Regions from separate parts of the Homo sapiens genome. Here regions 1, 2, 3, 4, 5 and 7 are each linked to region 6. The links are contacts of gene promoters, found by promoter capture Hi-C in blood cells and fetal thymus (Javierre and others, 2016). All regions are on one chromosome and are shown on one strand. The core of a region is centred on a gene start or on the middle of the fragment in contact, and the rest is flanking DNA. Distances in the headings are between cores, read along the strand shown. Region 1 overlaps GLB1L (galactosidase beta 1 like). Region 2 overlaps CHPF (chondroitin polymerizing factor). Region 3 overlaps NHEJ1 (non-homologous end joining factor 1). Region 4 overlaps TUBA4B (tubulin alpha 4b). Region 5 overlaps DNPEP (aspartyl aminopeptidase). Region 6 holds the start of USP37 (ubiquitin specific peptidase 37). Region 7 holds the start of ABCB6 (ATP binding cassette subfamily B member 6 (LAN blood group)).

Region 1 (3,512 bases), core at 772-3,271, 670 kb before region 6:
GAACCAGTTATCCTTGTGCAGTTCCTAGACTACTCCCATCTGCCCACACTCTAGGGCCATCTCCAGCACTATATTCAATTCCTTCCCTTCCTTCCTTCCCTTCCTAGCTTCCCCACCACACCCCAAAACAAAACCTACATGCTTCTTTGTTCTCTTTATGTTTGTCTCAGGGGGGTCTCCCATCCTGGTTGCTTCGAAAACCTGAAATTCATCTAAGAACCTCAGATCCAGGTGAGTTGAGACAAAGGATTTAACACAGAAGCAAGTAAGTAAAATGGGCTATTTGGGTGCCAAAAGCAGAAGAGACCATTCCCAAATTGGAGGTCATCATTCATTTACCAAGTGTTTCCTTCATGCCCAGCAGGATGCTAGAAACTGGGGGACCAGACAGACCCCCATCCTTGTGCCGTAAAGCTTATAATATAGTGGAAGAAACTGATTAAAAAAAAAAAAAACAGCTGGGCGCGGTGGCTCATGCCTGTGATCCCAGCACTTTCAGAGGCCCAGGCGGGTGCATGACCTGAGGTCAGGAGTTTGAGACCCACCTGGCCAACATGGCAAAATCCCATCTCTACTAAAAATACAAAAAATTGGCTGGGCGAGGTGGTGGGCACCTGTAATCCCAGCTACTTGGGAGGCTGATGCAGGAGAATCACTTGGGCCCGGGGGTCAGAGGTTGCAGTGAGCCGAGATTGAACAACTACACTCCAGCCTGGGTGACAGATTGAAGAGACTTTGTCTCAAAAAAGAGAAAATCCTATCAGCTGTATCTTGACAAACATTAAATTTAAGTGCTTTTTATCACCCCCATTGCCCCCACCCTGGTCCAAACCATCTCTCTCAGCTGGCTTATTTTATAGCTTCCTAACTGGTTTCCCTTGTTTGCCCTCTCCCCCATACAATCTGTTCTCAGTAGAGTAGCCAGTGTGATCCTGTTCAAGTATAAGTTTAAAGATACATCTCAGATCTTGTCATTTCTCTGCTTAAACCTCTCTAGTAGGTTCTCATCTCATTCAGAATATGAACCATAAATTCCTTAAAGTGGTAGGTCCTACACAATTGGCCCCAGTCACCTCCTCGACATTATTGCTCTTCTCCCCCATGTTCACTCTGCTCCAGCCACAGTGGCCTCATTGCTGTTCTTCAGACCCACCAGGCCTTGGGCTTTGAGGCCTTTGCATGTGGTGCTCCTTCATCACAAGCCTCCTGCAGAAGTCACCTTGGTGAGGCCTTCCTGGTCTCTCTCTCGCTCTCTCTATACATACATATATATGTATGTATATATATATATATATATATATACACACACACACACACACACACACACACACATATATATATATTATTTTTATTTTGTTTTATTTTTGAGATGGAGTCTCGCTCTATCACCCAGGCTGGAGTGCAGTGGCGCAATCTCGGCTCACTGCAAGCTCCACCTCCCAGGTTCACGCCATTCTCCTGCCTCAGCCTCCTGAGTAGCTGGGACTACAGGTGCCCACCAACACACCCGGCTATTTTTTGTATTTTTAGTAGAGATGGGGTTTCACTGTGTTAGCCAGGATGGTCTCGATCTCCTGACCTCGTGATCTGCCAGCCTTGGCCTCCCAAAGTGCTGGGATTACAGGTGTGAGCCGCCGCACCCGGCATAATTGTTATTTTTTTTTGAGACGGAGTCTTGCTCTGTTGCCCAGGCTGGAGTGCAGTCACGTGACCTTGGCTCACTGCAACCTCCGATTGGGTTCAAGTGATTCTCCTGCCTCAGCCTCCCGAGTAATTGGGATTGCAGGCACCTACCACCTTGCCCGGCTAATTTTTTGTATTTTTAGTAGAGACAGGTTTTTGCCATGTTGGCCATGAGGGTCTCAAACTCCTGACCTCAGGTCATCCACCCCTGCCTTGGCCTCAGAAAGTGCTGGGATTACAGGCGTGAGCCACCACACCCGGCCATCCCCTCTATATTTTAGTCTCCCCATATACCACCATTTTTGTTTGTTTGTTTTGAGATGGAGTTTTGCTCTTGTTGCCCAGGCTGGAGTGCAGTGGTGCAGTCTCGGCTCACTGCAACCTCTGCCTCCCGGGTTCAAGCGATTCTCCTGTCTCAGCCTCCTGAGTAGCTGGGATTACAGGCACCCGCCACCATGCCCAGCTAATTTTTTTGTATTTTTAGTAGAGACAGTGTTTCACCATGTTGGCCAGGATGGTCTCAATCTCTTGACCTCGTGATCTGCCTGCCTCCGCCTCCCAAAGTGCTGGGATTACAGGCGTGAGCCGCCACGCCCGGCCCATTTGTTTTTAAGAAACACTATTTTAAGGTTTCCTATGTTCAAATTTCATTGGCGTGCAAATATACAAGGTGCTTAGGGTTGGGAATTTCTTGACAAGAGTCATTGCTTCCCATATTTAGTGGTGAGCAAGTGTGATGGTAGCACCTAACACAGAAGCTCTGCTCCTTCCTTTAGACTTCCTTGCCGCAGTGGACTCCTGGTTCAAGGTCTTGCTGCCCAAGATATATCCATGGCTTTATCACAATGGGGGCAACATCATTAGCATTCAGGTACAAGGGGGAAGTGACTGGAGCAGGGGAAGAAGGTACAAGGGGTCCTTGACCTCCATCCCATAGCTGGGTTCCACTTTCCCTCCCCTCTGGCAGGTGGAGAATGAATATGGTAGCTACAGAGCCTGTGACTTCAGCTACATGAGGCACTTGGCTGGGCTCTTCCGTGCACTGCTAGGAGAAAAGATCTTGCTCTTCACCACAGATGGGCCTGAAGGACTCAAGTGTGGCTCCCTCCGGGGACTCTATACCACTGTAGATTTTGGCCCAGGTCTCAAGCAAGGGCTGGGAGTGGAGTCTGGGGAAAGGACACCTCTTCCACGACATTTATCTTTTTCTTTTGCCTCCTTTCCGCAGCTGACAACATGACCAAAATCTTTACCCTGCTTCGGAAGTATGAACCCCATGGGCCATTGGTGAGGGGCCAGAGAGGAGTCAGGGAATCAGGGATAGGAATGGGTCCAGCTCAGTTCCATCTCACTCACACTCCTTTCATTTCACACTCTAGGTAAACTCTGAGTACTACACAGGCTGGCTGGATTACTGGGGCCAGAATCACTCCACACGGTCTGTGTCAGCTGTAACCAAAGGACTAGAGAACATGCTCAAGTTGGGAGCCAGTGTGAACATGTAAGTAAAGACACTGGGGGCAATATGAATCTGTAGCTGGGAGCTGGGGATGAAAGTTAAGATTCAGTGAGTCAGCTTTTACCTGTTCCCCCACCCTCTCTCACTTCAGGTACATGTTCCATGGAGGTACCAACTTTGGATATTGGAATGGTGAGTCCAGATGGTCCCTGGGATAGAAGCAGGGAGGTAACAAGGAATTAGAATCTAAGGGCCAGGTGGATTAGGATGTCTAGAAGCTGAATATGGCCACCTCTGCCCCCTCTGATGGCAAAATTCTCTGCATGAAGCATGCTTAGTAGTGCCTGTCATCTGAAATACATGTTGAATT
Region 2 (3,494 bases), core at 89-2,588, 970 kb before region 6:
GGTGTTAGAGAAATGACTTATATATAGGGTGAGTGTATAGAGACAGGGGAAGAGAAAGGAGAGAACTAGGATTTACCTGGATCTCTTGTTCCTGAGTGGGTTACAAGGGCCACCTCAGGGTGAGATGGGGGAGGGAGGAATGTACCTATCTCATTAATGTCTCTGCTGATGAGTTGAAATAACTTCTAAGTAACATTGGGTTCAAATGCTGGTTCTGCAATTTACCTTCTGCCTTACCAAAAGGTAAGTTCCTAGAGCCCCTGAGTGCAGTTTGCCCCTCCCCGCAAAAACACTCAGTACACCCCTATGCCAAACGTTCCTTTATGTCATTTATGTGAGGCATTTGTGGCATAATGGCATATTTATATAGAAATGAGTAGATACATGGTGTGTCCAGCGTTTGGCTGGGTGCTTTAAACAGATATAATCAGTCCCATTTTACAGATGGCTCAGGTTAAATAACATGCTCAAGGACATAACTACTAAGTAGCGAACCCCGGAGTCAGACCCACAATATCTCTCTCCTATCTGGGTGGGTATTGCCATCTCCCAAATGCAAAGCACTACCTGTTTAAGACCATTTCGTTTAAATCCTCATGACCCCTGGGAGAGAGGGTTTATTTTTAACCTATTCATAGGTGAGAGAACAGATACAGAGAAGACGTGACCTGCCAGGGTCTGTGCTGACCACCTCCCCCCCACCCCCCGCCCCGTTGTCCTTTTGATAAGCTTGTGCCATCTCCTCCCCTAGGACCCGCTACATCAGCACGGAGCTGGGCATCAGGCAGAGGCTGCTGGTGGCGGTGCTGACCTCTCAGACCACGCTGCCCACGCTGGGCGTGGCCGTGAACCGCACGCTGGGGCACCGGCTGGAGCGTGTGGTGTTCCTGACGGGCGCACGGGGCCGCCGGGCCCCACCTGGCATGGCAGTGGTGACGCTAGGCGAGGAGCGACCCATTGGACACCTGCACCTGGCGCTGCGCCACCTGCTGGAGCAGCACGGCGACGACTTTGACTGGTTCTTCCTGGTGCCTGACACCACCTACACCGAGGCGCACGGCCTGGCACGCCTAACTGGCCACCTCAGCCTGGCCTCCGCCGCCCACCTGTACCTGGGCCGGCCCCAGGACTTCATCGGCGGAGAGCCCACCCCCGGCCGCTACTGCCACGGAGGCTTTGGGGTGCTGCTGTCGCGCATGCTGCTGCAACAACTGCGCCCCCACCTGGAAGGCTGCCGCAACGACATCGTCAGTGCGCGCCCTGACGAGTGGCTGGGTCGCTGCATTCTCGATGCCACCGGGGTGGGCTGCACTGGTGACCACGAGGTGGGATGATAAGCTATCCCACTGATACCTCCTTGTCATGTTCAAATCCCTCTGAGAGGCAAAGGGATGTTGGAGATACAGGTCTGCTTTTCCATGCCAATTCGGACATTTATTTTCTATCTCTGTGACCCCCAGTAAATTACTAAATATCCTGGGCTTCAGTATCTTCCTTTGTGCCAATGGAAATAATTATTGCTCGGGGTTGTTACAAGGATTAGAAAAAATCAGGGAGCCTTGTACATAATAGGCATTTGATGTTAGTTATTATTTTAGCCCTTGGACAGCTCTGAGACAGGACGCATGCCCATTTCGCAGATGAGCTAGCGGAGGCATGCTGAAGGTCACACAGACTCACAACTGGTCAAGGTAGACTTAAACCCTCAGACTGCAAGTCCACAACAGGTCATAGGCTGAGGAGATGAGACACTTACTATGAGACAACGGAAGACAATGCCAGCTCATCACAGATCCCTTCCCTTCCTCTCCCCAGGGGGTGCACTATAGCCATCTGGAGCTGAGCCCTGGGGAGCCAGTGCAGGAGGGGGACCCTCATTTCCGAAGTGCCCTGACAGCCCACCCTGTGCGTGACCCTGTGCACATGTACCAGCTGCACAAAGCTTTCGCCCGAGCTGAACTGGAACGCACGTACCAGGAGATCCAGGAGTTACAGGTATGGTCTAGGTCTGGGGGTGGCAGAGTGACGGGGACAGGATCTGAGAAGTCACAGAGAGCCCAGAGAAATGACAAGTTAGCACTAGAATCACAGAACAAAACTACTTCCCAGCCCCTGCCTGTTTCTACATTCTCTGATGAGCCTCTTGGCTGTCTATGCTGGGGAAATGATAGGTATGGGCAGAGGTTGGCAGGGGATGAGGGGCCCATCCTGAGTGGCACCTACTGCCTACCCAGTCCCCCAGCTGTGTGCTGCTCCCTGTAATCTGTCCCTTGCTGATGGCCTGTTTCTCTGATCCAGTGGGAGATCCAGAATACCAGCCATCTGGCCGTTGATGGGGACCAGGCAGCTGCTTGGCCCGTGGGTATTCCAGCACCATCCCGCCCGGCCTCCCGCTTTGAGGTGCTGCGCTGGGACTACTTCACGGAGCAGCACGCTTTCTCCTGCGCCGATGGCTCACCCCGCTGCCCACTGCGTGGGGCTGACCGGGCTGATGTGGCCGATGTTCTGGGGACAGCTCTAGAGGAGCTGAACCGCCGCTACCACCCGGCCTTGCGGCTCCAGAAGCAGCAGCTGGTGAATGGCTACCGACGCTTTGATCCGGCCCGGGGTATGGAATACACGCTGGACTTGCAGCTGGAGGCACTGACCCCCCAGGGAGGCCGCCGGCCCCTCACTCGCCGAGTGCAGCTGCTCCGGCCGCTGAGCCGCGTGGAGATCTTGCCTGTGCCCTATGTCACTGAGGCCTCACGTCTCACTGTGCTGCTGCCTCTAGCTGCGGCTGAGCGTGACCTGGCCCCTGGCTTCTTGGAGGCCTTTGCCACTGCAGCACTGGAGCCTGGTGATGCTGCGGCAGCCCTGACCCTGCTGCTACTGTATGAGCCGCGCCAGGCCCAGCGCGTGGCCCATGCAGATGTCTTCGCACCTGTCAAGGCCCACGTGGCAGAGCTGGAGCGGCGTTTCCCCGGTGCCCGGGTGCCATGGCTCAGTGTGCAGACAGCCGCACCCTCACCACTGCGCCTCATGGATCTACTCTCCAAGAAGCACCCGCTGGACACACTGTTCCTGCTGGCCGGGCCAGACACGGTGCTCACGCCTGACTTCCTGAACCGCTGCCGCATGCATGCCATCTCCGGCTGGCAGGCCTTCTTTCCCATGCATTTCCAAGCCTTCCACCCAGCTGTGGCCCCACCACAAGGGCCTGGGCCCCCAGAGCTGGGCCGTGACACTGGCCGCTTTGATCGCCAGGCAGCCAGCGAGGCCTGCTTCTACAACTCCGACTATGTGGCAGCCCGTGGGCGCCTGGCGGCAGCCTCAGAACAAGAAGAGGAGCTGCTGGAGAGCCTGGATGTGTACGAGCTGTTCCTCCACTTCTCCAGTCTGCATGTGCTGCGGGCGGTGGAGCCGGCGCTGCTGCAGCGCTACCGGGCCCAGACGTGCAGCGCGAGGCTCAGTGAGGACCTGTACCACCGCTGCCTCCAGAGCGTGCTTGAGGG
Region 3 (3,313 bases), core at 814-3,313, 590 kb before region 6:
CCTTTCGGTTTGCGCGAGCGGGCAGGAAAGCGTGCGTGCGGCTAAGAGAGTGGGCGCTCTCGCGGCCGCTGACGGTAGGTGGAATCGCGTTCGAGTCCGGGCAGGAGCAAGCCAGCGAGGGGCTGCTCAGACGCTGCGGGTTGGCCCTGGCGCTGGCCTTTTCTCCCTGGAGGGAGCGCGCGCTGCCGGGGTCCAGGGCAGGCCTCCGGGGGAGGGGTGGGCGGGGCCGCGCGTGCGCAGTCCGCTGGCTGCTGCCCGGCGTGGATGGTAGGGCTCGAGTGAAGGTACTCGTTGGTCGCCTGTTTGGTGCGACGAAGCCGCTGGTGGCCGGCTTTGTTGCCCCTTGAAGCCGCGCCCCAGTGCAGCCAGTGCTGTAGAAATGGGAAGGCGGACAGCGAAGGCTGTTATAGCTGGGGCGGGTGGAAGCGGGACGCCTGGCGGCTCCTGGGGTGGGGCTATGGTTGTGGTGGGACCTAGGGTTCGCGCTGTCCCAGGGGGACCGGGCGGGGCCCAGCCGGGATGCTCTCTGGGCCTCTACTGCCCTCTGCAGGGCGTCGGAGGAACTGCCCAGAGGGGTCACTGCTGAGGAGCGGACTCGGTGCAGATAAAGGTTCTCAAGGGACCCCTCCGCCGGGATGCCGCTCAGCGCCCCTCCACTCAAGAGAAATAAACCCGTGAATCTCGTTAATGTGAATGTTAGAGGCAGCCTTGAAGGAAAAAAGAAAAGGATGAAGTGTAGAAGCTTCGGACGCAGAACGGGACGCGTGTGGTGGGAGCAGGCAGCCGGGGTCTGGTGCCCAATGTGTCAGGCCTTTTTATAGGGCCCGTTACTCCTGGCCACATTTTAAACTCCTCCCCCTTTACCCAACAGACAAACAAAACCCATCAATTTGAGGGTTCTGAGCTTCCGGGCTTTCCGAAGGAATGGGCTAGAATAGTAAACCCAATTTTGGCAACTGTTAAGAGTACACTGGGGAGTGCCTATAAGGGAGATGAAAGTGGCGACTTTATTCGCGTTTGTGACCTTTGGCATTGTGGAGCTCTTGTCCGGCTAGGACTAGCTTAATCATCCCATGACCACTTCTGTCCCCATAAGAGCAGCATGTGGGAAATGTGACGGAAACACCATCCTCCAAACACAAGGCTTTGAGGATGCCATAAAGAAAGATCACCACGTATATGTATATATATGCATATATATATATGCATATATATATGCATATATATATGCATATATATATGCATATATATATATGCATATATATATGCATATATATATAAAGTTATGTCACAAGTCACAAGGGCACACTTCAAAAGCTAGGGGAAATGACTGTGTTAATCAGACTTAATAAGGAATTTCATTATTTACATTCTAAATTTTTCCTTCCTGGTACTTCTGTTCATTTTATATTTGTAGACTGGAATAATGAAGGAAATTGACATATTTTTTTCTCCCCCACAGGAAAAACAATCACATTCTCTGTCAAGCAGCCGTAGTTCTGATTGTCTACTAGGTTAAGCCTACTACTTTAGCTGCTGAGATAGAAAAGTTGTTTTGCAGGGGTTCCAGGCTGGGCATGTTGTCATTGGTGGCAGTGCACTGGAGTGGGAATGTGGAGGATGAGTTAAGTGGAAGTTAATTCAGTCTTTACCTCTGTGATGTGCTCTGCCTTGTATTCATGATTTCCTAGTCATTCTGGTTTTTGTTGAAATGAAATTTAGGTCTTTTCTGTTGCTCCTGGACACAGGTTCTTAGCTCTTTTTTGTGTCATCGATCCCTGAGAGTTTGATGATAGCTGTAGACCTCTTCCCCCTCCCCATGCATATATGCGTGTACACATAACATTTTCATATAATTCTAGAGGATTCACATGCATTGACTCTAGATTAAGAACCTGTTTTAGGGATTTTTAAAAAAATCCTGAGAGCTTCCTAAACTTTGTTTTTAGATAATGATCAAATACTTCGAATTTCCTGGCCCTGACACTATGACTTATGATGTTTTATAAGACAAGAACTATTCCTTCTCTTCTAGTTCTGGGAAAGGATAGGAGTGACATATTTATTAGGAATGTGATAAAGATGGAACAAGAAGGGTTTAGGTTTCCACGTTATGTTATAGTATTAGAAAGCAGAAATACTAACAGCAATATGCTGAGGTTTAAACACTATGGAAGAAAGATTTTCTGTCCTCTAGGAATGTAATATGGGAAAAAAAAAACCCTCAAGATTTTAAATATACTTTTAGTGGCCAGGAGGTAGTAAAGTCAGTGCTCAGCTGGTTGTATACTGGGAGAACGTAAATCCATGCCTTCTATTTTATCAGGGAGGATTTTCATGAGATTTTAGTTGATACAGACTGGTTTGGGTGGTGCCCTCCCTAGGCCAGCATGACCCTGAGGCTCTTTACTAAATGAGGACTTTTTTGCAGATGGAAGAACTGGAGCAAGGCCTGTTGATGCAGCCATGGGCGTGGCTACAGCTTGCAGAGAACTCCCTCTTGGCCAAGGTTTTTATCACCAAGCAGGGCTATGCCTTGTTGGTTTCAGATCTTCAACAGGTGTGGCATGAACAGGTGGACACTAGTGTGGTCAGCCAGCGAGCCAAGGTAAGTATGAGGAGAAGTACTGCTGTGTCGGGGATGTGAACATCAACCAGCTTGCTGGCCTGTAGTTTCCCAAGGAAGGTTGAATCGGGTTGAGACAATTCCAGTTAATGTCCTGTACTTCTACCTGTACTTCTGCCTGGAATCTTTGTGTGTGTGTGTGTGTGTGTGTGTGTGTGTGTGTGTGTGTGTGTGTGAGAGAGAGAGAGAGAGAGAAAGAAAGTTAGTTTCCCTACCCTATGCATGATAATGAATATATTATTTGATCTAGATAGGCCTTTTGTGATTTAATCTTGCCCAAGGCAGAATTGTGAAGTAGGCCAATTGGTCTTTGTGACTCTCTTCTTTTTGTTTTCTTCTTTCCCCTTGTGATGTTTTTATCTTCTCTCCCCTTCCTCTCATGTCCATTGCCTTCGTGTTAACCAGGGCTTTCCTTTGCTGTTACTTATGAGGGAATTAGTTTCCTTTTAGCACCCTTACTCTGTACCACTGCTCTCTCTTTAGGAGCTGAACAAGCGGCTCACTGCTCCTCCTGCAGCTTTCCTCTGTCATTTGGATAATCTCCTTCGCCCATTGTTGAAGGACGCTGCTCACCCTAGCGAAGCTACCTTCTCCTGTGATTGTGTGGCAGATGCACTGATTCTACGGGTGCGAAGTGAGCTCTCTGGCCTCCCCTTCTATTGGAATTTCCACTGCATGCTAGCTAGT
Region 4 (3,431 bases), core at 209-2,708, 690 kb before region 6:
TCTCAGCCTCCCAGGTAGCTGGGATTACAGGCGCATGCCACCATGCCTGGCTAATTTTTGTATTTTTAGTAGAGACGGGGTTTCATCATGTTGGTCAGGCTGGTCTCGAACTCCTGACCTCAGGTGATCTGCCCACCTTGGCCTCCCAAAGTTCTGGGATTACATGTGTGAGCCACTGTGCCTGGCAAGTTTATGCTCTTAAGAAGCTTACATTCTAGCCTGGGCAACATAATGCGACTCTGCCTCCACAAAAAAAAAAATTTTTTTTTAATTAGCTGGGTGTGGTGGCACATGCCTGTGGCCCCAGCTACTTGGGAGGCTGAGGAGGGAGGCTCACTTGAGCGCAGGAGGTCAAGGTTGCAGTGAGCCGTGATCATGCCACTTGCACTCCAGCCTGGGTGACACAGTAAGACCCTGTCTCAAAAAGAAATAAAATGGAGCTTTCATTTTCATGGGGAAGACAGACAATAAACAAACAAGAACATTCCAGATAGCAATAAGCATGTGAAGAAAACAAGGCTGGATAATGGAACAGAAAGATATGCAGGGGCTGCTATTTTAGACTGAACAGAAGCCACTCTATAAGAAGGTGATATTTGTTTTGTTTTGTTTTGTTTTGTTTTTGAGACAGAGTCTCGAGTCTCGCTCTGTCGCCCAGGCTGGATGGAGTGCAGTGGCACGATCTCAGCTCACTGCAAGCTCTGCCTCCTGGGTTCACGCCATTCTCCTGCTTCAGCCTCCCGAGTTGCTGGGACTACAGGCGCCCACCACCACGCCAGGCTAATTTTTTGTATTTTTAGTAGAGATGGGGTTTCACCATGTTAACCAGGATGGTCTCGATCTCCTGACCTCATGATCCGCCCGCCTCGGCCTCACAAAGTGCTGGGATTACAGGCGTGAGCCACTACACCCGGCCAGAAGGTGACACTTGAACTGAGGGCTGAATGGTGAGGAGTCAGCGAGGCAAGATCTGGAAACCAGTTCTCCAGACAGACAGAATAATAAGTGCAAACAATCATAGGTAGGAACTAGCCCAGTGTGTCCAAAAACCCAGAGTGAGGAAAGGAGAGAGCTCTACAAGATGAGATCATAGAGGTGGAGGGGCCTTGGAAGGAGAATGGCTTTTATATAAGTGTAACAGGAGGGTTTGAAACAAGCGTCATTGCCTAGCTTGTGTTTCAGAGAGATGACTGCAGCTGCTGTGTGGAGACTGCATTAGGGTTTCAAGCCTAGAGGCAGGAAGCTGGTTCAGAGGCTGCTGAAGGCATCTAGGAATAACGGGATGGTAGTAGGGGGTGGTGAGAAGTAGCTGGGTTGGCAGTAAAGTGAAGGACATACTAGTGTAGGTGGTGGCAGAGCTTCTCAACAGCCTTGCCTGCCCCTGCCCAATTCTTCACTAGCAAGGTCCTGATTTTATTTGAGTATTCACCCTTGCACTTGCTTGAGGAAGACAGCTTTCCCCCAGACCTAGGGGTGTGTACAGGTTAGTCCAAACCATCCATGGCCATTTAACTCCCTCCCTCCAGTGACTGGTTTAGGCAAAAGCTAGTGAGATAGAAGGGGGAAGTCTGCTAGGGCGCTTCAAGGAAAGGTTTTTCTCCTGATAAAAACAGATGTGGGAGGAAGCCCCCCATTTCCTGCCTTAAGACAGAGTCATATAAGGACATGATACTTAGAGCTGCTGTATCTTGTGTTCCTGAGGGAAGATGTCACCCGCTCTTTGAGGATGACAGCGCAGAAAGCTAGAAACACTGGAGTTATTGGTGACATGACTGAATCAACCCTGGAAAGACCCTATACTCAGATTTCTTGTGGGATAATACATGCCCTCATTGTTCAAGCCATTGATAAGTTAGGTTTTCCATTATTTGCAGCCAAAAAATTCTAACTTAAAAGAGGGAGAGGAGAGAGAGAGAGAGAGAGGAAAGTGATCCTAAAATAAAGATTTTATTTATTTATTTATTTATTTATTTTTTTAGATGAAGTCTCGCTCTTGTCCCCCAGGCTGGAGTGCGATGGTGCGATCTTGGCTCACTGCAACCTTCGCCTCCTTCAAATGATTCTTCTGCCTCAGCCTCCCGAGCAGCTGGGATTACAGGTGCCCGCCACCAAGCCCAGCTAATTTTTGTATTTTTAGTAGAGACGGCGTTTCACCATGTTGGTCAGGCTGGTCTCAAACTCCTGACCTCAGGTGATCCGCCACCTTGGCCTTCCAAAGTGCTGGGATTACAGGCGTGAGCCACCGTGCCCGGCCAATCCTAAGATTTTAACTCAAGCACTTGGAAGGAAGATGATCACTCAGACTGGGAAGCCTAGAACAGAAGCAGGTTTGGCAGGGAGTGGGGTGAGGGTAGAAAACAGTTCCATGGTGACTGTGTTATGTTTGAGATGTCTCATGGGCTTTCAAGTGGAGATGTCAAGAAAGCAATTAGTCATATGAATCTGAAGTTCAGAGGAGAGGTCAGAAATGGAGATATAAATTTGAGTCGTCAGCATATATATGACATTCATTTCTTTTTATCCTATTCCTTCACTATTGTATGGGAATGTATATACTCTAGTTTTAAAATAATTCCAAAATTATTTTTTAATAATTCTCTTTAAATAATTCCAAAAATGTTACAATAACTTTTTATGATGAATATTATTAAAAATATACCTAAAAATAGAGATAATATAATAAAACCTCATATATTCATCACCAAGCTTCAACAATTGCTCCTTCAGGGAGAAAAATAAATGAAGGAAATAAGAGAACCTGAGACTGGGCTATGGGGAACATCATTTAAAATTAAGCTATCAGAGGCCACCAAGAAGGAGGGGCCAGGACAAAAGCTAGAAGCCGGTGCTGTCATCAAAACCAACAAAAAAGAATTTCAAGAAGGAAAGAAGAATCGACCATGAGAAATGCTGCTGTGAGCGGCTAAGAAAGATGAAGATGGAGATGTGTGGCCTTTGGATTTGGCAAGAGGCAGGCCACTAGAGACCTTGGCAAAAGCATCTCAGCGGAGCATGTGAGTCAAGTCTGCAGGGAGAGTATTGAGGGGTGAATTCATGGATATGTGATGAGTAGGGCTACCCCATTTGTAAAGGCAGTGCTGTGAGAAGGAGGATGGCTGGGAGATGCTCTAGTCTGGAAAAACTGAAGGATGCACATCACTAAGGCTGTGGCTCTATCTCTCCCAGATGGAGTCAGTGCAAACATTTTAAACTTTGAGTACCTTGCTGCCCTGCTCCAAGATAAAGGTGAGACCCTGGGAAGGGGTCAGAAAAGATGGAGATGATAATGGGAAAGGAGAAGAGGGAGAGAGACCCAGAGGGAGAGTACACATATAGGTAGATGGACTGAAAAGTTAATTCAACGGGAGAGTGAATTAGAAAAGTAATTCAACATCTGGTAGCATTTTCTAGATTCTGTACATGTCTGTGAA
Region 5 (3,252 bases), core at 467-2,966, 820 kb before region 6:
CACTGAACTGCTTAGGGAAAGAGGCCTGGATGTGGCCATCTGTTCTCTGTCTCCCGGTTGCTGATGGTCAGAGATTGCTAAATCTTTGGATGCTGTGTCCTGCTTGAACACGTACTAAGTTTCTGTTTTTTGGCTGGTTTCCTCTGTTTACTTCTTTGGCCTTTTTGATGACAATTCAGCCCTTCCTTTTCTTGACCCACAGGAAGAGGTCAAGAGCTATTGGCCTCCACCCTTTTGTTCCTCAGCACCAACCCAGCCCCCTTCTCCAATCTCTGCTTGGTCCTGCCTAGCAAGGAATCCCAGCACTTTGGGAGGCTGAGGCGGGGGGAATCACATGAGGTCAGGAGTTCGAGACTAGCCTGACCACCATGGTGAAACCCTGTCTCTAATAAAAATACAAAAATTAGCTGGGCCTGGTGGTGCATGCCTGTAATCCCAGCTACTCAGGAGGCTGAGGCACGAGAATCCTTTGAACCCGGGAGGCGGAAGTTGCAGTGAGCCGAGATCGAGCCATTGCACTTCAGACTGGGCGACAAGAGCGAACCTTCATCTCAAAAAAAAGAAAAAACAAAATAGTGCCCTAAGCCAGGGGTCAGGGAGAGGTTGCGCAAGAAACCAAGGAGACCCTTGGGAGCAAAAGAAAGGTGAGTGGGGGTGGAGGGTTGAAGGTCGGGCTGACTGTCTTACCTCTCTAGGTCTTGGGTGGTGCCTATGATGAGTTCATCTTTGCTCCTCGGCTGGACAATCTGCACAGCTGCTTCTGTGCCCTGCAGGTGAGGAGCCGGGGCGCCCCAGGCAGCACATAACCACCAGCAGAGGTGGTATGTTTGGGGTCGGGGGAGCTGCCTAAAGCCCCAGCAGGTTGTGAGAGAGGGCCATTGTCTACCCGCTCAGTCTGCTGGTGCTGGATGGACCAGGAGGGGGCCCTAAATGTTGCAGCCTCAGCATCGCCACCTTTGGTCTCTGCCCTTGCACTATCAGGGTGTTGAGGCAAGAAGAAGGAGGAGAAGTTGTTTCAGGCACCATGGTCTCTTGTCCTAGCCTTGCTCCTGCTGCTTTTCCTGAAGTTAACAACCTCTGCCTCAGGGAAAGGCTTTATCATCCACAAGGCAGTATCATCCACCTCCTTCTGCTTCCTACGCCACTCCCCAGGCTTAAGACCCCAGCCTTCTCCCTGTTTCTTGGGATCTCAGTCAGGTAGCCTCTCTTCCTAGTCACCTTGATATTCCCCACCTTCTCTCCACCCTAGTCAGTTCCCTTTCTTTCTCTCCTCTTGCCCTTGATCTCCCTCTGCCTTTTTCTGCCTTTCCTTCCCTGTAATCCTGTGGCTGGAGATAGGCTTTGGGCTGTAATTGAGACCAGAGCTGGACCTGGGACCTGCATCTACTTCTGCAGGCAACCAGCCAGTCATGTCACCTTGATGGAGTCTGTCACCTCTTTGAACCTCAGTCTTTTCCCTGAGGCCAATCAGTTTATGTGATGTGTGTAGCCTTTTGGCTTTCCAGGACTCTCAGCTCTTCCTCTCTGTCCTCCACATCTTCTACTGCCTTTTGCATGGGAAGGTAGAGAACAACACCCAAAGGATGGTGTCTCCTGTCCCAGTTGAAAAGGTTTCTACCTAGCTATTGATCTGGCCAAAAAAAAAAAGAAAGAAAGAAAAAAAGAGAAAAAAAAGGTCCTCACCACACCTTAAAGGTTTCTACCTATGTAGCTATTTATTTGGCAAGAAAAAAAAGGTCCCCACCACACCCTCTGCCAGGCAGTGCCCTAATTGATAAAAGTCATGGCCATGGAAGGCAGACAGGGGAATGTGCACACCCAAGGTGCTGGTGGATGGGGGAGCGTGCACACCCAAGGTGCTGGTGGGCTGAGTTCCAGCAGAAGCAGGTTGGAGATGATGCTCTCATTTCCTTCCCTGAACCAGGCCTTGATAGATTCCTGTGCAGGCCCTGGCTCCCTGGCCACAGAGCCTCACGTGCGCATGGTCACACTCTATGACAACGAAGAGGTACGTGGAGGGTTCTGGGGAGGGTCACCTCTGCGGAGTCTTCCACAGCCAACTTGTTGTGCCAGGCATCCACCGTGAGCCAGGGCTCTTCTGGGGGCCCCAAGACAGGGGAGATGCTGCCTGTGCCTCCTTAGCACTTGGTGTCTCCTCTGACTCAACATAGATCTGCTTATTCGAGGGTGACCGTCTCTCCTGTATCTCTCTTTGTGCCACATGGTGAGCTTCTTCCTTTAGGACAGGGACTCTACCCAGCCCATCCTCGTAGCCCCAGGGCTCAGCACAGAGTAGGTCCTCATGATGCCTGCGTGTGTGAGGCTGCAGTCTCAGCTGCATAACAGAGCTTGAACAGCTAGTGCTCTCTCATGTAACAACCCAGGTCAGAGTTAGCAGTTTAGGAGGGGTCCCTGCCGTCCTGAACACATGACTTCCATTTCAGGATTCAGGGTGGCCGTTCCAGCTCTGGCCATCATGTCTACACTGAGTTAGTAGGAAGGGAAGAGAGGGCAAAGGGGCAGTAGACACCCCCTGGCTTTAAGGGCATGATCCAGAAGTGACATTCATCACTGCTTACATTCCACAGAACTTAGCTGCAGGGGAGCCTGGAAATGTCATCTCTAGCTGGGTAGTTAAGTGCTTAGCTACAACTTGGGTGTTCTAAAAGATATCATGGACAGTTAGCAGTCTCTGTCATACACATAAAAGAAAATTGACCAGTGTGGTGGGGCACCTGTGCTGAGCCCCAGATGTGAGGGTCACGAGAGGAGGAAGGGGAGCAGTGCAGGAAACCCACCAGTACTGTTAAGAATGTGAGTTAGTTTGGTCTCAGCCCACTGTCTGGTGTTCAGTGACGACCCCAGGTTAGGGGTGTTGCTAAGAACACCCAGTGACTCAGTGGGGTTTTGGGCCAGTTGGGCAATGGGCCCCTCTCACTGGCTTCCAAGATCAGGCCCCTAAGCCCAGATTCCCAGAGTCAGGACTCTACTGTCGCCAGGTGGGGTCTGAGAGTGCACAGGGAGCACAGTCACTGCTGACAGAGCTGGTGCTGCGGCGGATCTCAGCCTCGTGCCAGCACCCGACAGCCTTCGAGGAAGCCATACCCAAGTCCTTCATGATCAGCGCAGACATGGCCCATGCTGTGCATCCCAACTACCTGTGAGTCTCTAGTGCCAGTCACACAGTCTTCACATAGCTGGAGACCCAAGCATAACCTGCCTTGAGGCTCTGCCTTGGCCCCAGCCTCTTCC
Region 6 (3,596 bases), core at 879-3,378:
ACATTGAATAGTTACAAACACTTAGAAACAGTATGAAAGGAGGCAGAGATACCAACAGCACTGGAACTGACAATGGAGATCAAATCTCAAAAAGCAGTTTTCTATAGCTTAGTCATACTTGGCTCAATTTTTCACTTTTTGTACTTAAACGTATGGCAATTTTTGGTGCTTTATTTAGTAATTACGTCATTTTGCCTGATAATACAATTTCAGTACATTACTTTCCTTAAATCATTTCCCTTTGGTTAAACAGAAAAAGCAGAATTGGTCTTCAGGCAGGTATGCTCAAATCAAATGATCTCCTTTCCCCATCATGGCAATGTTCTTTCAGTGGTCACCTTCCCTTCAATATTCTTTCATGCAGCAAAGTATCTGAGTCTTTAATCTTGTACTAGGAACTGTCCTGGCACCGGGGAAACCACGTCAACAGGGCTCACATGATCCCTGTCCCTGCCCTCAAGGAGACAGACAACAAATAAACGAATACAATAATTACACGGGGATCAGGGCTGTAAAGGGTACTCTACTAAAGTTAGAGGCTGCGGAACTAATTTGAAGAGGATAGTCAGGGAAGGCCACTCTGAGACCGATTTAGGCAGAGACCTGAAGAAAGATGGATTTGGATAAACAGTTTAAGGAGAGGAAGGAGAGTTCAAGGAAGAGGTACCAATTACACTCATGCTGTGTATGTAAAGGAGGAGGGATAAGAAGAACATTCACTCCAGGCATAGAGACCACAAAGTGCATCTTGGAGAAAAATAAGCGCGTTGCAGAGGGTTAGGTGGCCAGAGTAGCTGAAGCTTTAGGAGCAAGAGACATAAAACGAGATTATAAACGTGGGTTAAGTACCACATCATACAGGGCCGTGCAGGCTATGGCAAGGAGTCTAGATTTTATTTAAATGCCAAGAGAAGTAGGATTACTTCGGATAGCTGAATTACACTATCTTTCTTTTTTGTTAAAAGATCACGCGGGTAAAACGAGATGTGTCGAGGAAAAGTTTTAAATGCAGAGAACCTAAGTCAGATGCAAAAATTATGCACTTTTCCGGGCCTCAGGTTTTCCATAAATAAAGCAAGTGGTTTGAACTAGAAGCCATTTCCTTCCCGCTGCGACGTGGTGAGTTCTAAGAGCAGGGGCCGCGTCAGATTGACCATGGAATTCCCCTCATCGACGCCGGCGCCCAGAACACAACTGGCGCCCTGAAACTGTTGGTCAGCGCAATAAATCAATGAATGGCCTGCTACGGGCGTGGGACCAGGCCCCGGCGCCCGCAAAGAACGCGATGGGTCGCGCTGAAGGCCGCGAGAGGCGTCCGGCAAGGAAATAGGGGCCGGCTCCACCACAACCAAAGCGTGCCGAGGAGGGGAACCGGGGCCTTGGAGATTGAGGGCAGAAAAAAATCAGACTAGGGACCCGACACCGGGAATTAGGAGAGAAGGCCGAAACGTGGGTCTGAGAAAGGATTCTGGTTCCAAGCCTGGGGGCCCAGCCACTCACCGCAGCCGTCGCCAGGCTGTGCATGTTGTGAGCGGCCGCCGCTCTCTTCCACAGCCGGACGCGTCCGACCCGCGTCCCCCCTTCAGCACCCCTGCAGCGGAAAACAATGAGCCGCCGTAGCCGCCATCCGACTCCGGCTCGCTCCGCCCACTTCGCGGCCCTCTGACCTCTCACCCCTGACCCCACCCACACATCCTCTTCCCGCCTCCAGGGCCTAGTTAACAGTCCCAGAGTATGTCCTTTGCCCCTTAAGATTTAGGACCGGAAGGACGTCCGCGACCACTAGTCCCCGCAACTTCTGGCTTTGAGCAGTTATTTCCAGAGAGCGGCGTGAACTCTGACCCTCCTCCAAAAGCCAGTGAACGGCGGGAAAAGATGGACAGTCCCGGCAAGACAACTATTGCGCATGCCCGACTGGGTTGCGTAGGAGGGAAATGGTGGGGGGGCGTCGAAATCGGGTGAGGTGGAAAGTGCGCGTGCCTACTACAGTCACGGCAGGGGCGGGGCTGCCCGGGCTAGGCCGCTCTAGGTACTGGCGGGGCGGGGCGAGGGCGTGTGAGGGGCGGAGTTTTCGACTGACGCGCACGCGCCTGTCTGGTCGCGTCGAGTGTGCGTGCGTGCGTGCGTGTTTGCGTGTGGTCACAGTTCCCGCCATCAGCCGCTCTCCCTGACTAGGGGTAGCTAGCGGCCTCCCTCCTTTGGGTTCGGTATCCCTACTTCCATTACCCTCGGCTCCTCCCACTCCTCGCGGGCTCCGTGCTTTCCGCGGGTCTGTCCGGGGGCTCCGGACCCTCGGCGCAGGTAAGGCGGGCCGGGGTAGCTTCTCAATTGAGCCGTTTTCCCTACCTCCTCCTCCTTCTGTGCGATCCGCCCACTCGGCGTTCACTCCTCTGGAGTTCGCCCTGCTGCTACTCAGCCCGCCCACAACCCCTCGATGCACCCCCAGCCTCACAGGTACTACCTTTGGGTGCACTGCCCCGGCTTCCACCTCTCCTTTGACTTGGTCTCCACTGCCACTCGCTCCCTCCGAAACTCAAACCTGGCCCCTTTTCTCTGGGGCTGTTGTCGTTCGCCTCTTACCTTCTAACAGGGCCTGCTGTCTCTTCAGGTGACTTTCGTTACGGCACATCCACCAGGCCTTGGACATGATACTCATTCACTCTCTTGACCATCTTCACCTTCCTCTTGACCAGTCCTCACTGCAAAACATGAATTGTATTTTTGTTGTGCATTTCCTTGCGCCCATTTCTAGCCGCCAGATCAGGTTGTTAGATGTAACTATTTTAAGTCATGATCCATGAAAGGAAATGATGATTGATGATAAAATCCTGTGTCCTGAAGAGTTGTCCTAAAGTGGTTTTGGGGTATTCCTCTCAAAATTTCAGCTCTGTATAAATTCCTTTATTGAGGTGGCAATTCCTGACAAGTGTCTAACTGGAAGAGATACCTGAGAGGGAATGTCAAGTAGGCAGTTGGATATAGTGGGTTTGGAGATCTTAGGAGAGTTCTGGGCTGCGTACGTAAATGTGCGCGGTGTGTGTATGTGTTTGTCATCTGCCATATTGATAGTAATTGAAGCCATGGATGTGGATGAAATTGCCGAAAAAGAGTATAGTGCTGTAAAATAAAGGCACCTAGGATGGAGCATTGACGAATTCCTGCTGTTTAATAACCAATAGAGGAGGATGCGTCTTGCAAGCCATGAAAAAAGTCATCAGTAGTGTTGCATTCTGCTGAAAGGTAAAATGGAAGGAGGACTGAAAAACCCAGTGATATAAAAGTACTCACTTGTCTTAAAGATGTTTGATGAAGTAAAATGAGTATTTGGGTTCAGTCCTAGGTCCTCTTCTTTTACTCTTATATTCCTCCCTAAGCTTTAAATTTGATCTATATATTGATGACTTAAAAATTGTTATTTCCAGCCTATTCCCTTTGTTTTCAGCTCCACATCTAGATAGCCAGCTGTCTGCTTGACATCTCAACTTGATTTTTTTCTTAGGAGTTTCAGATGCAACACAGCCAAATCCAAAGCCTTGATCTTTCTCTCCATATCGAAATTCTTTCTTCTCCAGTGTCCCAGTTTATTAAGTGGCACA
Region 7 (3,305 bases), core at 752-3,251, 650 kb before region 6:
CCCCAGCCCTGTTCCTCATTCTTGTGTTCCTTCTATGAGTATGCTTACTCTTACTTGTCTCTCCAGATCCTGGCACAGTGCCCAGGGTTCCCTCTCATTTCTCTCGGCTGCCTCTTGGAGGGTGGGCAGAAGATGGGCAGTCGGCATCAAGGCACCCTGAGCCCGTGCCCGAAGAGGGCTCGGAGGATGAGCTACCCCCTCAGGTGCACAAGGTAAGGGCCCCGGGGCCTAGGAAAAACTGCCAGAAATAGTAACTTCCAGGGTGAGGTAACAGCTTTTCAGGGGAAGGAAGATATGCCCCACCCCCACACAGAGATACTGTACCCTCCCTTCCAAAACACACTACCCCTTCTTTTCTCAACTGCTCTGCAGGGCTTGGTTTTTCCTTACCTTACCTCCCCAGGAATCAACCTTTCCTGTCCCTTTACCTCTAGGTTTCTATGGGGCTAGCAGGTATCAACCAGAAGCTGAAGACTATCTCCATTACCAACCCTTTCTCCCCACAGGTATAGACAAGGCTGAGCAGGGTTCCTGTGGCCCAGGATGGAGGCCACCGCTGCCCTGCCATCCCGTCTGCCTGCCATGGGACGGCTCCTCTGAGTGTTCCCTGGCCCCACGTGTGTGGTGTTTGTGTGTCTGTGCCTGGCCAAGGGAGGTGCCAACACTGGGCTTGCCACAGCCCCAGGAGAGGAATTTGGGGCCTAGGAACCGAGGGCACACGGGACTCTAGCCTCATCCCCAGGACCCCCTTGGCTCAGAGTGTGGTGCTAGAAACTGGCCCCCAGCCCAGCCCCAGTACTGCCACCTTTACACCTACCCCTGCAAGTCCCCAGAGGGCTGCCCACGATAGAAGCTGCCAAGCAGGGAGAACCTGTGCCAACTGTGGAGTGGGGAGGTTGGGCCTGGACCCTCAACCCCTGCAACCTTCCCTAGCCCCCTCAATAGATGAGCAGGTCAGGCTGTGGCCCTTACCTCACCCGCAGTTCTCGCCCAGTGCTGCAGCCGGCTCACCTCTCTCCGCTTCTTGCACATCACTGGCCTGTGTGTGCTGCTTGCTCCTGTTCTGTTCGCTTGCTCCCGTTCCGTTCGGCTTTTGCTTTGCGTTAGGGTGAAGACCCTAGCGTCCAGCTCCCCTCAACGCTATATTTTGACACTAAAAAAGAAGGTTTCTAAATTGTAGGAGCAGGATGGAAATACTTTGCTGCCCTTGCCATCTTTTAGGATGGGCCCCCAGGAGACTGAGGTCTTCCTGGGCCCTCATTGCTGCTTATCGTACCCCCCATCACCTGCACATGGGACAGACCGGGCTGGAGGGTGACCTTGGCTGTGTGCGTCCCAGCAAAAGAGCTCTGGCCCGCATCTCGCTGTGCCCTGAAGGGGGATGAAGGGCGATGCCTCGCCCGAGGCTTTGGGCTGCTGCACTGCATGCTGGGACTGCTCCTACTCTCTGTCCCACCCCTCACCCAGCTGTGGTCCGGCTTTGGGAGAGTGGTGAATTGCGCTGCCCGAACTCGGAGCGGAGCAGGGTAGGGACCGTGTACAGCTTGATAACCCTTAATAAAAAGGGAGTTTGACCAGACTTCTTGTTGTCTCGCGCGGCTAGAATCCTGGGAACAAGAGAAATGGGATGGGGACTCTGCCGGGGTCTAGAAGAAAGTATGTTTAGGCCGTCGCTCAGATACGCTGAGCAAGGCGGCTGGCGGAAGGGCAGCTTCCGACCCACAGTTCCGTGGAGGTCTGTGTCCTGCCCCGAGCCAGGATTCCGTGAGGTCTGTTTCCAGCCCCGAGCCACGATTCCGTGGAGGTTTCCAGCTCGGCCTGGTCGTCAGATTTCCCGCCCTGGGCACGTGACCAAGCCGGCTCTGCTTCTCTAATTTGCATTCGTTGCCTGCACCATTCCCCCCGCTCCCCCCTCGGAGACATTTGGCCAATGGGAGCCGTGGGTAGGGGCTGTGGGCGGGGCTACAGCCGTGGAGCGCGGTGCGAGTCCAACACCGAGCATTCCCGTGGGCCTGCAGTTGGCAGGAGGGTCCCGGGCCCAGAGCCAGCGGGGCCGTGCTGAGACGGCGTACGTGCCCTGCGTGAGTGCGTGGCGGCGGCGCGTGCGCTAGGGGAGTGGGCGGTGAGGCCTGGTCCACGTGCGTCCCTTCCCGGGACCCCCGCAGCTTGGCGCCCAGCGGCTACGTGAGCCAAGGCACCCGGATGTCCGCGCCCCTCTCCGAGTGACCAGTCCCGGCCTCCGGTCCCGCAGTGCCCGCAGCCTCGGCCGGCGTCCACGCATTGCCATGGTGACTGTGGGCAACTACTGCGAGGCCGAAGGGCCCGTGGGTCCGGCCTGGATGCAGGATGGCCTGAGTCCCTGCTTCTTCTTCACGCTCGTGCCCTCGACGCGGATGGCTCTGGGGACTCTGGCCTTGGTGCTGGCTCTTCCCTGCAGACGCCGGGAGCGGCCCGCTGGTGCTGATTCGCTGTCTTGGGGGGCCGGCCCTCGCATCTCTCCCTACGTGCTGCAGCTGCTTCTGGCCACACTTCAGGCGGCGCTGCCCCTGGCCGGCCTGGCTGGCCGGGTGGGCACTGCCCGGGGGGCCCCACTGCCAAGCTATCTACTTCTGGCCTCCGTGCTGGAGAGTCTGGCCGGCGCCTGTGGCCTGTGGCTGCTTGTCGTGGAGCGGAGCCAGGCACGGCAGCGTCTGGCAATGGGCATCTGGATCAAGTTCAGGCACAGCCCTGGTCTCCTGCTCCTCTGGACTGTGGCGTTTGCAGCTGAGAACTTGGCCCTGGTGTCTTGGAACAGCCCACAGTGGTGGTGGGCAAGGGCAGACTTGGGCCAGCAGGTGAGGGACTCTGTGGGAAGGGGGAAGCCTCTGCTGGCCGGGCTTGGGAGAAAGCACTGCATGTCCAGTCACACTGCTTCCAGGCTTTAGGATGCCTCTAAGCAAAGGGAGAAGGGAGGGGCTGAGTCCTGCCGGGAGCTGATAGCCAGCTGGTGGGGTGTGTCTTTGCTGAGTCACTGTGGTTTTGCTTTTTTTTTTTTTTTTAAGCCTGTAAGTGCTGAATGTGTTCATGACACCAGTCCCCGGCCCTATTATAAGTAGTAATACAATGAAATTTTATCCTCAATGATACTCTCTCCACTTATATTTCATTCTAGGTTCAGTTTAGCCTGTGGGTGCTGCGGTATGTGGTCTCTGGAGGGCTGTTTGTCCTGGGTCTCTGGGCCCCTGGACTTCGTCCCCAGTCCTATACATTGCAGGTTCATGAAGAGGACCAAGATGTGGAAAGGAGCCAGGTACACCTCAGTTTCT

What was found. Contacts are between HindIII fragments. The CHiCAGO score rates a contact against its expected background, and 5 or more counts as called.
Region 1: a contact is called between a fragment that was not itself captured here and the fragment with the promoter of USP37 in region 6, in 3 of 17 cell types (fetal thymus, total CD4 T cells and naive B cells). The highest score is 7.0, in fetal thymus.
Region 2: a fragment that was not itself captured here is called in contact with the fragment with the promoter of USP37 in region 6 in 1 of 17 cell types (total CD8 T cells); the score reaches 5.4 in total CD8 T cells.
Region 3: a contact is called between a fragment that was not itself captured here and the fragment with the promoter of USP37 in region 6, in 2 of 17 cell types (total B cells and naive CD8 T cells). The highest score is 6.6, in total B cells.
Region 4: a contact is called between a fragment that was not itself captured here and the fragment with the promoter of USP37 in region 6, in 3 of 17 cell types (activated CD4 T cells, naive B cells and fetal thymus). The highest score is 7.7, in activated CD4 T cells.
Region 5: a contact is called between a fragment that was not itself captured here and the fragment with the promoter of USP37 in region 6, in 7 of 17 cell types (naive CD8 T cells, total B cells, non-activated CD4 T cells and 4 more). The highest score is 8.4, in naive CD8 T cells.
Region 7: a contact is called between the fragment with the promoter of ABCB6 here and the fragment with the promoter of USP37 in region 6, in 7 of 17 cell types (neutrophils, activated CD4 T cells, total B cells and 4 more). The highest score is 6.5, in neutrophils.

The regions. Positions count from the first base shown.
Region 1 is chr2:219,239,233-219,242,744 of GRCh38, reverse strand. GLB1L (galactosidase beta 1 like) reads left to right here. Exons shown (of 17, transcript NM_001286423.2): 5 at 171-231; 6 at 2,460-2,554; 7 at 2,651-2,825; 8 at 2,912-2,970; 9 at 3,063-3,184; 10 at 3,294-3,334. Among named protein-coding and RNA genes, the nearest start is that of GLB1L, 4.5 kb to the left of the region's middle. The HindIII fragment of the contact is 3,209 bases long and covers 417-3,512 here.
Region 2 is chr2:219,539,447-219,542,940 of GRCh38, reverse strand. CHPF (chondroitin polymerizing factor) reads left to right here. Exons shown (of 4, transcript NM_024536.6): 2 at 752-1,325; 3 at 1,816-1,995; 4 at 2,299-3,494. Among named protein-coding and RNA genes, the nearest start is that of CHPF, 2.6 kb to the left of the region's middle. The HindIII fragment of the contact is 1,213 bases long and covers 732-1,944 here.
Region 3 is chr2:219,157,481-219,160,793 of GRCh38, reverse strand. NHEJ1 (non-homologous end joining factor 1) reads left to right here. Exons shown (of 8, transcript NM_024782.3): 1 at 1-74; 2 at 2,432-2,608; 3 at 3,110-3,313. The coding sequence starts at 2,432. Among named protein-coding and RNA genes, the nearest start is that of NHEJ1, 1.7 kb to the left of the region's middle. RefSeq lists a silencer at 195-314. The HindIII fragment of the contact is 2,637 bases long and covers 745-3,313 here.
Region 4 is chr2:219,259,515-219,262,945 of GRCh38, reverse strand. All of the region lies in intron 1 of TUBA4B (tubulin alpha 4b), which reads right to left. Among named protein-coding and RNA genes, the nearest start is that of TUBA4A, 7.3 kb to the right of the region's middle. The HindIII fragment of the contact is 2,500 bases long and covers 209-2,708 here.
Region 5 is chr2:219,381,887-219,385,138 of GRCh38, reverse strand. DNPEP (aspartyl aminopeptidase) reads left to right here. Exons shown (of 15, transcript NM_012100.4): 9 at 696-773; 10 at 1,925-2,008; 11 at 3,000-3,160. Among named protein-coding and RNA genes, the nearest start is that of DNPEP, 4.4 kb to the left of the region's middle. The HindIII fragment of the contact is 7,826 bases long and covers 1-3,252 here.
Region 6 is chr2:218,566,883-218,570,478 of GRCh38, reverse strand. USP37 (ubiquitin specific peptidase 37) reads left to right here and starts at 2,128. Exons shown (of 26, transcript NM_020935.3): 1 at 2,128-2,301. It overlaps CNOT9 (CCR4-NOT transcription complex subunit 9), which reads right to left and starts at 1,640. Exons shown (of 8, transcript NM_005444.3): 1 at 1,501-1,640. The coding sequence starts at 1,524. RefSeq lists enhancers at 1,046-1,235, 1,030-1,657, 1,658-2,285 and silencers at 1,946-2,005, 2,096-2,165. The HindIII fragment of the contact is 2,574 bases long and covers 803-3,376 here.
Region 7 is chr2:219,217,654-219,220,958 of GRCh38, reverse strand. ABCB6 (ATP binding cassette subfamily B member 6 (LAN blood group)) reads left to right here and starts at 2,001. Exons shown (of 19, transcript NM_005689.4): 1 at 2,001-2,834; 2 at 3,152-3,289. The coding sequence starts at 2,286. It overlaps ATG9A (autophagy related 9A), which reads left to right. Exons shown (of 16, transcript NM_001077198.3): 15 at 67-212; 16 at 507-1,579. The coding sequence ends at 512. RefSeq lists a silencer at 2,562-2,671 and an enhancer at 1,917-2,784. The HindIII fragment of the contact is 13,414 bases long and covers 1-3,305 here.